4 separate regions of the Homo sapiens genome follow, and all the other regions are linked to region 2. Evidence: promoter capture Hi-C in human tissues and cell types (Jung and others, 2019). All regions are on one chromosome and are shown on one strand. Each heading gives the region's core, a stretch centred on a gene start or on the middle of the fragment in contact. The rest is flanking DNA. Distances are from core to core; before and after follow the strand shown.

What was found. Contacts are between HindIII fragments. The study calls those that stand out against the background at their distance.
Region 1: a fragment that was not itself captured here is called in contact with the fragment with the promoter of NSUN7 in region 2 in 1 of the 25 tissues and cell types used here (lymphoblastoid cells).
Region 3: a fragment that was not itself captured here is called in contact with the fragment with the promoter of NSUN7 in region 2 in 1 of the 25 tissues and cell types used here (mesenchymal stem cells).
Region 4: a fragment that was not itself captured here is called in contact with the fragment with the promoter of NSUN7 in region 2 in 1 of the 25 tissues and cell types used here (dorsolateral prefrontal cortex).

The regions. Positions count from the first base shown.
Region 1 is chr4:40,400,031-40,402,730 of GRCh38, forward strand. No RefSeq gene overlaps it. Among named protein-coding and RNA genes, the nearest start is that of RBM47-AS1, 25 kb to the right of the region's middle. The HindIII fragment of the contact is 5,760 bases long and covers 1-2,700 here.
Region 2 is chr4:40,748,704-40,751,403 of GRCh38, forward strand. It overlaps NSUN7 (NOP2/Sun RNA methyltransferase family member 7), which reads left to right and starts at 1,252. Exons shown (of 12, transcript NM_024677.6): 1 at 1,252-1,597; 2 at 1,900-2,288. The coding sequence starts at 1,991. The HindIII fragment of the contact is 15,367 bases long and covers 1-2,700 here.
Region 3 is chr4:40,380,984-40,383,683 of GRCh38, forward strand. No RefSeq gene overlaps it. Among named protein-coding and RNA genes, the nearest start is that of RBM47-AS1, 44 kb to the right of the region's middle. The HindIII fragment of the contact is 5,805 bases long and covers 1-2,700 here.
Region 4 is chr4:41,163,095-41,165,794 of GRCh38, forward strand. All of the region lies in intron 1 of APBB2 (amyloid beta precursor protein binding family B member 2), which reads right to left. Among named protein-coding and RNA genes, the nearest start is that of APBB2, 50 kb to the right of the region's middle. The HindIII fragment of the contact is 4,001 bases long and covers 1-2,700 here.

The DNA.
Region 1 (2,700 bases), core at 115-2,614, 350 kb before region 2:
CAGCCCCATTGGAGAGCCTGCAAGTTAGGCCTGATGACCGCAGTCCAGGATGGCAGAGGGAGGGGGTGCAGAGCTCTGATGGGGCCACTGCTCCAGAAGGAGTTGGGGCGAGGTGAGGACACAGGGGGAAAATAAGAGGGAACCCAGGCAGGTGCTATGCCAGCTGAAGGCTCCAGTCATGGGCGCCAGCTGAACCCATAGGGTTCAGGACCTGCACAAAGCCAAGGTGCCTTCTTCCCCTTGATGATGCCATGAGCCATAGGTTCACACACCTTCTGATGAGGGATGGGGGAGGAGGCAGCAGAAACCAGAGACCCTAAGCAGGACCCAAAGGGACCAATTAAACTGTTGATTTGAACTAAGGTTTAAGCTGAACTGGGCATTTAGCTCTATTTCTTCTCTTTACCTAGCAAATAACAAATGAGATGACAACACAAAATATTTTCCCTGCACATCCAAGCTGTATGGTGAGCATATTTAAGTCTGCCACTGTGTATTTCAATAAAAGAAAATTAGCTGTTCTATCAGGCCCAGTGGTTTCAGGTCTTTTAACTTTTCTTCTTATTTTACCTTCTTGGTTCGAATTGCTAACCTCTATGTAGTTTCTGAATGTTCATATCCCTCTGAAATACCAGAGTATGTTCTCTTCTTCTCCCTCCTCCTCAACATCAGCAACAACAAAAAGAAGCAGGAAAGTGTCGCTGTTCCTGGGTTGAATTGTGTCCCCCAAAATTCATGCATTGATTTAGAGATAGGACCTTTAAAGAGGTAACTAAGTTAAAATAGACATTAGGGTGGTCCCTAATCCAATCTGACTGGTGTCCTTATAAGAGGAGACAGGGGGCCGATCATGGTGGCGCATCCCTATAATCCCAACACTTTGGGAGGCCAAGGTGGGCAGATCACTTGAGCTCACGAGTTTAAGACCAGCCTGAGCAACATTGTGAGATCCCCGTCTCTACAAAAAATACAAAAATTAGCCAGGCGTGGTGGTATATGCTCCTATAGTCCGAGCTACTCAGGAGGCTGAGGCAGGAGGATCACTTGAGTCCAAGAGGTCGAGGCTTCAGTGAGCAGAGATCACGCCACTGCACTCCAGCCTAGGTGACAGAGAGAGACCCTATCTCAAAAAAACAAAAAACAAAACAAACAAACAAACAAAAATGCCAGGGATGCACGCACAGTGCACGCAGAGAAAAGACCAGGTGAACAGGCATCAAAAAGGCAGCCGCAAGCCAAGGAGAGAGGCCTCAGAAAAAACCAAACGTGCCAATACCTTGACCTCACACTTCCAGCCTCCAGAACTATGAGAGTAAATTTCTGTTGTTGAAGTCACCCAGTCTGTAGTGTTTTGTTATGGCAGCCCTGGAAAACCAATAAACTCACCTTTCTTTGTTTTTGCTCAGGTAACAGAATTGTGCCAGTGAGTGCCGCCATGGCTAAACAGAGCCACACCTGGGCAACATGGTGTCTCTACCAAAAATACAAAACTTAGCCGGGCGTGATGGCATGTGTCCGCAGTTCCAGCTACTCAGGAGGCTGAGGTGGGAGGATCGCTTGAGCCTGGCAGGTCAAGGCTGCAGTGAGCCACCGCGCCTGGCCTTTTTATGTATTTTTTTTTTGAGGGGTAGGCATGAAATTAGCAGCACAAAATGAGAGACGGTATAAAAACTGAAACGTGATCCCCGAAAGTTTATCACAGTACAAGCTGAGAAGAGAAAACGTCAGGAAGTTTGTCATTTAGCAGAGTCCTTCCAGCTGCAAGGGCGACAGAAACTCTGTGACTTGTCAGCCAAAGGCCTGGGGTCTTGCGAATGTTCCTAATGAGCGGTGCTTTCTACCAGCTGGAAACCAGCTGCTTAACTGACATCTGGAAATGACTAATGGAAATTAGGGGAGGCCCCAAAAGAAATCAGGCTCTGGGAAAACACGGATTATAGAAACCCTACACATTTCTAGGATTATTATATTCTAGAAATACATAGAATACATATATACATATAATACATTGTATGTATTTCATATGTGTATGTATATGTATGTACATATATGTACACGTATATGTATGTACATATATGCACACGTATATGTATGTACATATATGCACACGTATATGTATGTACATATATGCACACGTATATGTATGTACATATATGTACACGTATATGTATTACATATATGCACACGTATATGTATGTACATATATGTACACGTATATGTATGTACATATATGTACACGTATATGTATGTACATATATGTACACGTATATGTATTACATATAATCCTGGGTTTTACTGTTTATTTATTTATTTTTTAGTTTCAGTTTTTTGAGACAACATCTCTCCCTGTCACCCAGGCTAGAGTACAGTGGTGCAATCTTGGCTCACTGCAGCCTCCGCCTTAGGGGTTCAAGGGACTCTGGTGCCTCAGTCTTCCAAGTAGCTGGGAATACAGGTGCGCACCAGCACGCCTGGGTAATTTTTGTACAAATTTTTAGTAGAGATGGGGTTTTGCCATGTTGGCCAGGCTGGTCTGGAACTCCTGGCCTCAAGTGATCTGCCACCTGGCCTCAAGTGATCTGCCCACCTCAGCCTCTCAAAGAGCTGGGATTACAGGCATGAGGCACCACACCTGGTGGGTTTTACTCTTTTTTAAAACAATGGTTTCTTAAAATGTAAATCAGTTGACCCAAGCTATTC
Region 2 (2,700 bases), core at 2-2,501:
TGAAAGTGGGTGGATTTCTGAGAGAAGGGGTCAGGGTTAGAGTTCTGTACTGCTAATTTTTTCCCCATTATCCATTCTCTCCTTCTTCTACAGTAATAGTTCCCTTATTTTTAGCTGGACACATTTACCAGCCTCTTGGTTGCTGGGTATATGACTGAGTTCTGACCAATAAAATGTGAGCCAAAGTGATATGTGCACCTTTCAGGTCATTGAAAAATATGGGCTGCCCTCTCTTTCCCCTTCATCCTACTAACCACTGGCTGGAAATGGAAATGGCCTTAGCCTAAAGAAGGAAGGGCAAATCCCTAAGGAGGAAAGGCAGAGGTGGAATTAGGACCAGTTGTCTTTCAACTATACCAGAGTTTTTCAAACTGTGGTCTTTGGGCTGATTGCATCAGAATCGCCAGTTACCTGATAAAAATGCAAATTACTGGGTCTTAGCAACTCAAATCTCTAGGATGGGTTCCAAGGATTTTTTTTTAGCTGGAGGCGGTGGTTCACGCCTGAAATCCCAGCACTTTGGGAGGCCGAGGAGGGAGGACTCCTTGAGCCCAGGAATTCGAGACCACCCTGGGCAACATAATGGGAACCCTGTCTCTGTTATTAAAAAAAATTATTACAGACGGCGCAGTGGCTCACGCATGTAATCCCAGCACGTTGGGAGGCCAAGGCCGGCAGATCACTTGACGTCAGGAGTTCGAGACTAACTTGATCAACACGGTGAAACCCTGTCTCTACTAAAAATACAAAAATTAGCAGGGTGTGGTGGCGGGCGCCTGTAGTCCCAGCTACTCGGGAGGCTGAGGCATGAGAATCACGTGAACCCGGGAGGAGGAGGCTGCAGTGAACCGAGATTGCGCCACTGCACTCCAGCCTGGGCGACAGAGCGAGACCATGTCTCAAAAAAAAAATTATTACTATATTTTAAAAATATTTTAAAGAATGTGTAGTTTTAACAGGGACTTCAGGAACTTGTGAGTTAAAACCACGGAACTACGTCAGACTACCTCAAAAATATCCCCAAATGTTTATAAACAAAGCCAAGGGCACGCACTCAGGCCCGGTGAGGTCCAGGAACTGTGCAAGAGGCCTCTGGCTCGGAGGGGCTGAAACAGGTGTCTCCGCGCGCTGGGGGAAGAGCGACTCTCCCGGCAACAGGTAGCACCCGCCAAATCCCGCGGGAACGGCCCTCGCGCCGCGCCCCCTGCCCCACCTCCGCTCGCGGTTGCCATGAAGACCCGGTCCGGGAGCAGTCGACTGCCGGAGACTCGGGAGGCTGAGCTTTCCTCGGCCTGAGCCAGCCAGACCCCGGGCACCGCGCTCACCCCTCTTCGCCGCCACGTCCGCGAAGGCCTCACGCGCGAGGCCAGGCGAGGCCCCGAGGCGCCCACCACTTCACGACACCGGAGCGAACCGGGCGCCAGAGGCTGCGACCCCCCTGCCCCGAATCCTGCCGGTGGGAGTGGCTGCATTTGAACCAAACGGCCTTCGCGGGCAGCAGCCGTCGCCCCGCAGTCCCGGGGCTCCCAAGGGCCTGTGACCGACGCCGCCCTCCGCGTCTTCGTCCCCGAAGCCCCGGGAACCATCCGCCCTCGGGGTAAGGGAGGAGTCGGGGGAGCCGGTGACTGGGCTGTGGGGACGCGGACGGGGCTCCGGGGGCAGCTCTGCCCCCAGACTGGCTTGAGGGAAGCCGTCGGTCTCCTTGGGGCTCTTCTCCCTCCGCCGCTGCACCCCTCCTCGCTTTTTTTTTTTTTTTTGAGCGTCCCAGGCTCGAAGTCTGGGACACTCAGATGGGACGGGAAATGCTCCCTCTTAGTCTTTAAGGCCACAACGAAGGGGGCCACCCACAGGGGTGCTGCAGAAAGAGTGATTTACTGCAATCACCTTCTCTCTTCACAGAGACCATGCTGCAGATGCGAGGAAAGCCGTTTCCTGGAACATCGGAATTCTAACCCCAGGGTGAAGGACTCACGACAGGCGAGGGGCAGACATGCTGAATTCCACGGGCGAACTGGAGTTTTCGAACGAAGAAGATCCCGAGATCATCTCCCAACTCACTTCCCTGCCTCTGTCCGGTGGGAAAAGCTCAGCTGGTGTGCCCGAAAAAACGGGCTATCCGGACTCCGTTTATGTCATGGCAGCCAACATTTTTCAGGGTATTCGAATCGAAAAGTCGGCACAGAAAGTCTTAATCAAGTATGGGAATGAACCCCTGCGGTCCTTGTCCGAGTCTGAGGATCAGTCCTTTCAGCGTTTGTCTTATGAGCTGGCTTTCAGTGCCCTGAAATGTGAGTTGTGCCAGTCTGGAAGATCAACACTAAAAGAAAATAATAGCGAGAGAATTTGGGGAATGCAGCCCTCCTCCTCCCTTCCCCTCATTCACACCAGGTTTTGGTTTTAGGCATGTGCATATCTTTGGTTAATTGCAAGTGTCAAGGAATTAGGGTTCCCATGAAACTAGCTCTTCCAGCCCAGGATTGCAGATTTCCCCGTGCACTGTGTTTGTCCTTAGATCGGTGTAGTGCGCGGTCATTACATTCAACAAGGAAACAATTTATTCCAATGATCATTTCCCTCTCCCTGTATTTTTTTTTCCCTCGTAGACTTAGGGGTCTCGCTTTATTGTCTGGGCTGGTCTCAAACTCTGGACCTCAAGGAATCCTCCCTCTTCAGCTTCCCAAAGTGCTGGGATTACAGGCA
Region 3 (2,700 bases), core at 125-2,624, 370 kb before region 2:
AAGAGAACAAGAATGTCTGCCTAGTAATCCAGGAAATTCTCCCAGATCTTACCCAAGACCACCAAGGTGGTACCTCAGCCAGTCTGCAAGAGCCATAGCATTACTGAGTGTGGACTGCCCACTAAAGCAGATAAGGCTGCAGTGACCAAAGACTTGGACCACAACACCCAAGACCCTTCACATACCTGGAAAGCCTTCTGAAGAAGGATGGGTAGAAATAAGCCCAGACTGTGAAGACTACAATAGATACCTCACTCTTCAATGCCCAAACATTAATGAACATCTACAAGCATCAAGATCATCCAGGAAAACATGACTTTACCAAATGATCTAAATAAGACACCAGTGACTAATCCCGGAGACACAGAGATGTGTGACCTTTTGGATAGAGAATTCAAAAGAGTTGTTTTGAGGAAGCTCAACTAAATCCAAGATAACACAGAGAACAAATTCAGAATCCTATCAGATAAGTTTAACAAAGAGGTTAACATAATTGGAAAGAGTCGAGCAGAAATTCTGGAGCTGAAAAATGCAATTGACATGTGGAAGAATGCATCAGTGTCTCTTAACAGCAGAATTCATCAAGCAGAAGAAAGAATTAGTGAGCCTGAAGACAGGCTATTTGAAAATACAGTCAGAGGAGACAAAAGAAAAAAGAATAAAAAACAATGAAGCGTGCTTACGAGATCTAGAAAATAGGTCCAAAGGGGCAAATCTAAGGTTATTGGCCTTAAAGAGGAGGTAGAGAGAGAGAGATCAGGGTAGAAAGTTTATTCAAAGAATTAATAAAACAGAATGTCCCAAACCTAGAGGAATATATCAATATTCAAGTACAAGAAGGTTATAGAACACCAAGAAGATTTAACGACAAGAGGACTACCTCAAGGCATTTAATAATCAAATTCCTGAAGGTCAAGGATAAAGAAAGGATCCTAAATGCAGCAAGAGAAAATAAATAATAATATACAAAGGAACTCCAATACATCTGGCTGTAGACTCTCAGTGGAAGCTTCACAGGCCAGGAGAGAGTGGCATGACACATTTAAAGTGCTGAAGGAGGGCCAGGTGCAGTGGTTCACGCCTGTAATCCCAGCACTTTGGGAGGCTGAGGCCGGTGGAACACTCGAGATCAGGAGTTCAAGGCTAGCCTGGCTAACATGGTGAAACCCCGTCTCTACTAAAAATACAAAAATTAGCCAGATGTGGTGTGCATACTTGTAATACCAGATACTTGGAAGGCTGAGGCAGGAGAACCACTTGAACCCAGGAGGCAGAGATTGCAGTGACCTGAGATCGTGCCACTGCACTCCAGCCTGGGTGACAGAGCAAGACTCTGTCTCAAAAAAAAAAAAAAAAAAAGTAAATAAATAAATAAATAAAGTGCTGAAGGAAAAAACAAAAACAAAAACTTTTATCCTAGAATAGTATATCCAGAAAAAATATCCTTTAAACATGAAGGACAAATAAAGATTTTCCTAGACAAACAAAAGCTGAGGAATTTCATCAACACCAAACCTGTCCTACAAGACATGCTACAAGGAATTCTTCTATATGAAAGAAAAGGATGATGTTAATGAGAATAAGAAATCATCTAAAAGTAGAAAACTCACTAGTAATAGTAAGTACACAGAAAAACACAGTATAACCGTATAACCCTGTAACTGTAGTGTGTAAAAACTACTCCTATCTTGAGTAGAAAGACTGAAAGGTGAACCCGTCAAAAATAATAACTACAACAACTTTTCAAGAATTAGACAGTATAACAAGATATAAATAGAAGCAACAAAAAGTTAAAAAGTGGGGGATAAAGTTAGAGTAAAACATTTGTAATAGTTTTTGTTTGTTAGTTTGTTTATGCAATCAGTGTTAAGTTGTCATCAGTTTAAAATAATGGGTTATAAGATATTATTTATTTGCAAGCCTCCTGGTAACCTCAAATCAAAAAACATACAATAAAAAACAATAGGCCTGGAGCGTTGGCTCATGCCTGTAATTCCAGCACTTTGGGAGGCTGAGACAGGTGGATCACTTGAGGTCAGAAGTTCAAGACCAGCCTGGCCAACATGGTGAAACCCTGTCTCTACTAAAAATACAAAAATTAGCCAGGTGTGGTGGTAGGTGCCTGTAATCCCAGCTACTTGGGAGGCTGAGGCACAAGAATTGCTTGAACCTGGGAGGTGGAGGTTGCAGTGAGCCGAGATTGTGCCACTGCACTCCAGCCTGAGCAACAAAGTGAGACTCAGTCTCAAAAACAAAAACAAACAGAAAAAAAAACCAACAAAAACCCAATATATTAAAACATACCACTTAAGAAAATCACCTTCACCAAAAAGTAGACAGGAAGAATGGAAAGAAGGAAGAAAAGAAACCACAAAACAACCAGAAAACAACAAAATGACAAGAGTAAGTCCTTACTTATCAATAATAACATTGACAGTAAATGGACTAAACTCTTTAATCAAAAGACATAGAGTGGCTGCAGAGATTAAAACAAAAACATGACCCAGCGATGTGTTGCCTATAAGAAGCACACTTCACCTATAATGACACATGTAGACTGAAAATAAAGGAATGGAAAAAGATATTCCATGCAAATGAAAACCAAAAAGAGCAGGAGTGTCTACACTTACACCAGACAAAATAGATTTCAAGACAAAACTATTCAAAGAGACAAAGAAGTTTGTTATATAATGATTAAAG
Region 4 (2,700 bases), core at 22-2,521, 410 kb after region 2:
TGAAAATGGCAGTTTGGGCCCAGATGGAGCAACATGCAATGTGACATAGAGGACAGCTTGGGTAATGCCACAAGGCAGGGATGATTCCGGCAGATTTTAAAACAGCAGCAGCACAGGTGGGTAAAAGATCTGGGGGGAAAGAGTATGGTAATGATAGACCACATATCTGCTGAGAGATTTGAGAATCATCACGCATTTTTGAATAGGGGAATAGCCCTGGATCTGTATTCTAAAGCATTAGTGAGTGTATTAGAAGTGAGGATTCCAGTTTGGATTTCAATAATCCACCTGATGGGTCCCTGCACTAGGTCAACAAGAATGACCAAAGAAAGAAGGAAGTGACATGGTTTATCAACTGAATACCTGGGGCCAGGAGGCAGGAGGAGTAAAAGATAATATAAGCTGATTTTCAGCTTTCAGAGAAAGAAGATTACTTTCTTAAGGAAAAGAAAAATTATCCCTATAGTTCCTCAAGAAAATATATACACCTTTCAGATCATAAACAAGCGTCAGTCAAAAATTCTTGTCAACAGTGATAATGGGCATCCTGGACATCTTGACTTTAAGCTAAATTCAACAGATCCCAGGGAACACTGGACCAATCCACTTTCTTCAATATGTTCATAAATCTTATTTTGATTTCTCTGAGGCCTTCCATACTCTGGGCATGTGAGTCTGAGGCAAATGTGTATTTTCCACGTTAATTCTATTTTTTAGAAAATGAGAGAGAAAAAGAAATTCAAGTCTAAAAATTTTGAGATCACCTTTATACTCCAAAACCTCAAATAACATACTTCTACAGCTTTGTATTCAACCTACATGAAATATAAATGTTCTCTAACGTTTCAAAAACAAGGAACATAGATGGAAGGAAATTAATTATAAAGAAAAGTCTATAAGATCTATAAAGGCTGGGGTACCTTAAACAAAATGCTTGGGATCAGTAGAGTTTCGGATTTTGTATTTGGAAATATCTGCATAAGGAAGTATCTTGGAGATGGAGCCCAAGTCTAAACATGAAATTCATGTTTCATATATAACTTATACACATAGCCTAAAGGAAATTTTACACAATATTTTTAATAATTTTGTGCATGAAACAAAGTTTTGACTTTGGTTTGACCACAACCCGTCACATGAGGTCAGGTGTGAAATTTCCCTCTTGCGGCATCACAATGGCAGCTAAAAAGTTTTGGATTTTGGAGCACTTCAGATTTTCACATGAGGGGTACTCACCTTGTACACTGAGATAAAACGTAAGCAGTGTGCACATTACAATCTCTGAATCCACAACTGATTTTGAAAATATACACAAATAATTATCAGTAGTCTAGGACTACAGAGTTTCAAGACACTGACACAGGATGCAAAAGGCGGCTCCTTTGATTCAGAAGAGATCCCTAGATACATAATTTCCCTTTTATCTAAGAGACCACAATAGTTTCCCTTTGTACCAGACAGCACAAACCCAATTAAGTGTTTAATAGATACTTTCTGTGATAAGTCCCTTTGAAAAACAAAACAAAACAAAATCTTATATAGATTGCCTGAAAAAGTGAAGTAATATCACTTCTCGTTAAATGTTAACCTTTAAATAACTAAAACAGCTAGTTTATCCTCTGGACTTAAAACCCTACATCACACTAGCTTTAACATACATACAAAGGGTAAATTCCAGTTGTTCTAAGAGCCAATAGAAGGTTATGACTTAAGAGGTTGATTCTTTTAATTTAGAAATAGTCCTAAGTGATCTTTTAAACATGGCTGTTTTTTAGAGGGCTAGACTAAATCCAGGTGTTTAAGTACATATTAAAATTAACATAGAGTCCATCTTCAGGGAATAATTCTGGATTTCACTTTTTTTAAGCTTTTATTTTACAAAGGGCTTTAAGTGAGAATATTTTCCCTTTAGCCCCATTTGCAGAGAGATTCACCATCACAGCAATAAACCACTTCCCAAAGCCATGAACCCTCTAACACTTCCCTCACAAAAACAGCGATTATTTTATATTTTATTTGACCATTTGAGATGTCCGCAAGGCACCCATGTGGGAGAGACAGTTAGAATCCAAAGAACCCCAGGTGTGCCATTGTAGCGGTGTAGCAAGTCACTTAACTGTTTCCTCACTGCACAGGAGGGTCCTAAGAGTACCCGTCTTTCAAGGATGCTACAAGGACTATCTTGGATTCTCTGATCCTCCAACACAAATTGGGCATCTTACCATCCAATGCTACTCTCACACGAACTACCCACAAGGAGTCAGAGGCCACAGGTAGAAGGGCTCAGTACCACAAGACTGCCCTCACCCAGGGGCCACCATGAGTACTACATCCCTAGGTTACCCATGTAACCAAGTACCCCGATAGTTCTCAGAATCGGTTTTTTCTCTCTCTCTTCTTATCTCTTTCCTCTGTTTCCTCACTTCCTACTTAGCTCTTTAGTAATGCAATTATAGCCTTTTACCTCATCTTCACCAGATACTCCCTACAGCAAGTTCATCTAACTATGTGCTTAGCAATTCCAGAGCGGAACTCTCACCCACCAGGAGGTTGCCTCAAGAGACAAGACGTCAATTTATAACCCAAGGTATGCCCACTATGAAACTCTCTACACCTGGGGAGTTTTCGGCCACTTTTACAACACAGTTCAGTCCATGAAGGTACCAGCAGTCACCAGCTTGATCGCCCAGTAGATAAGAC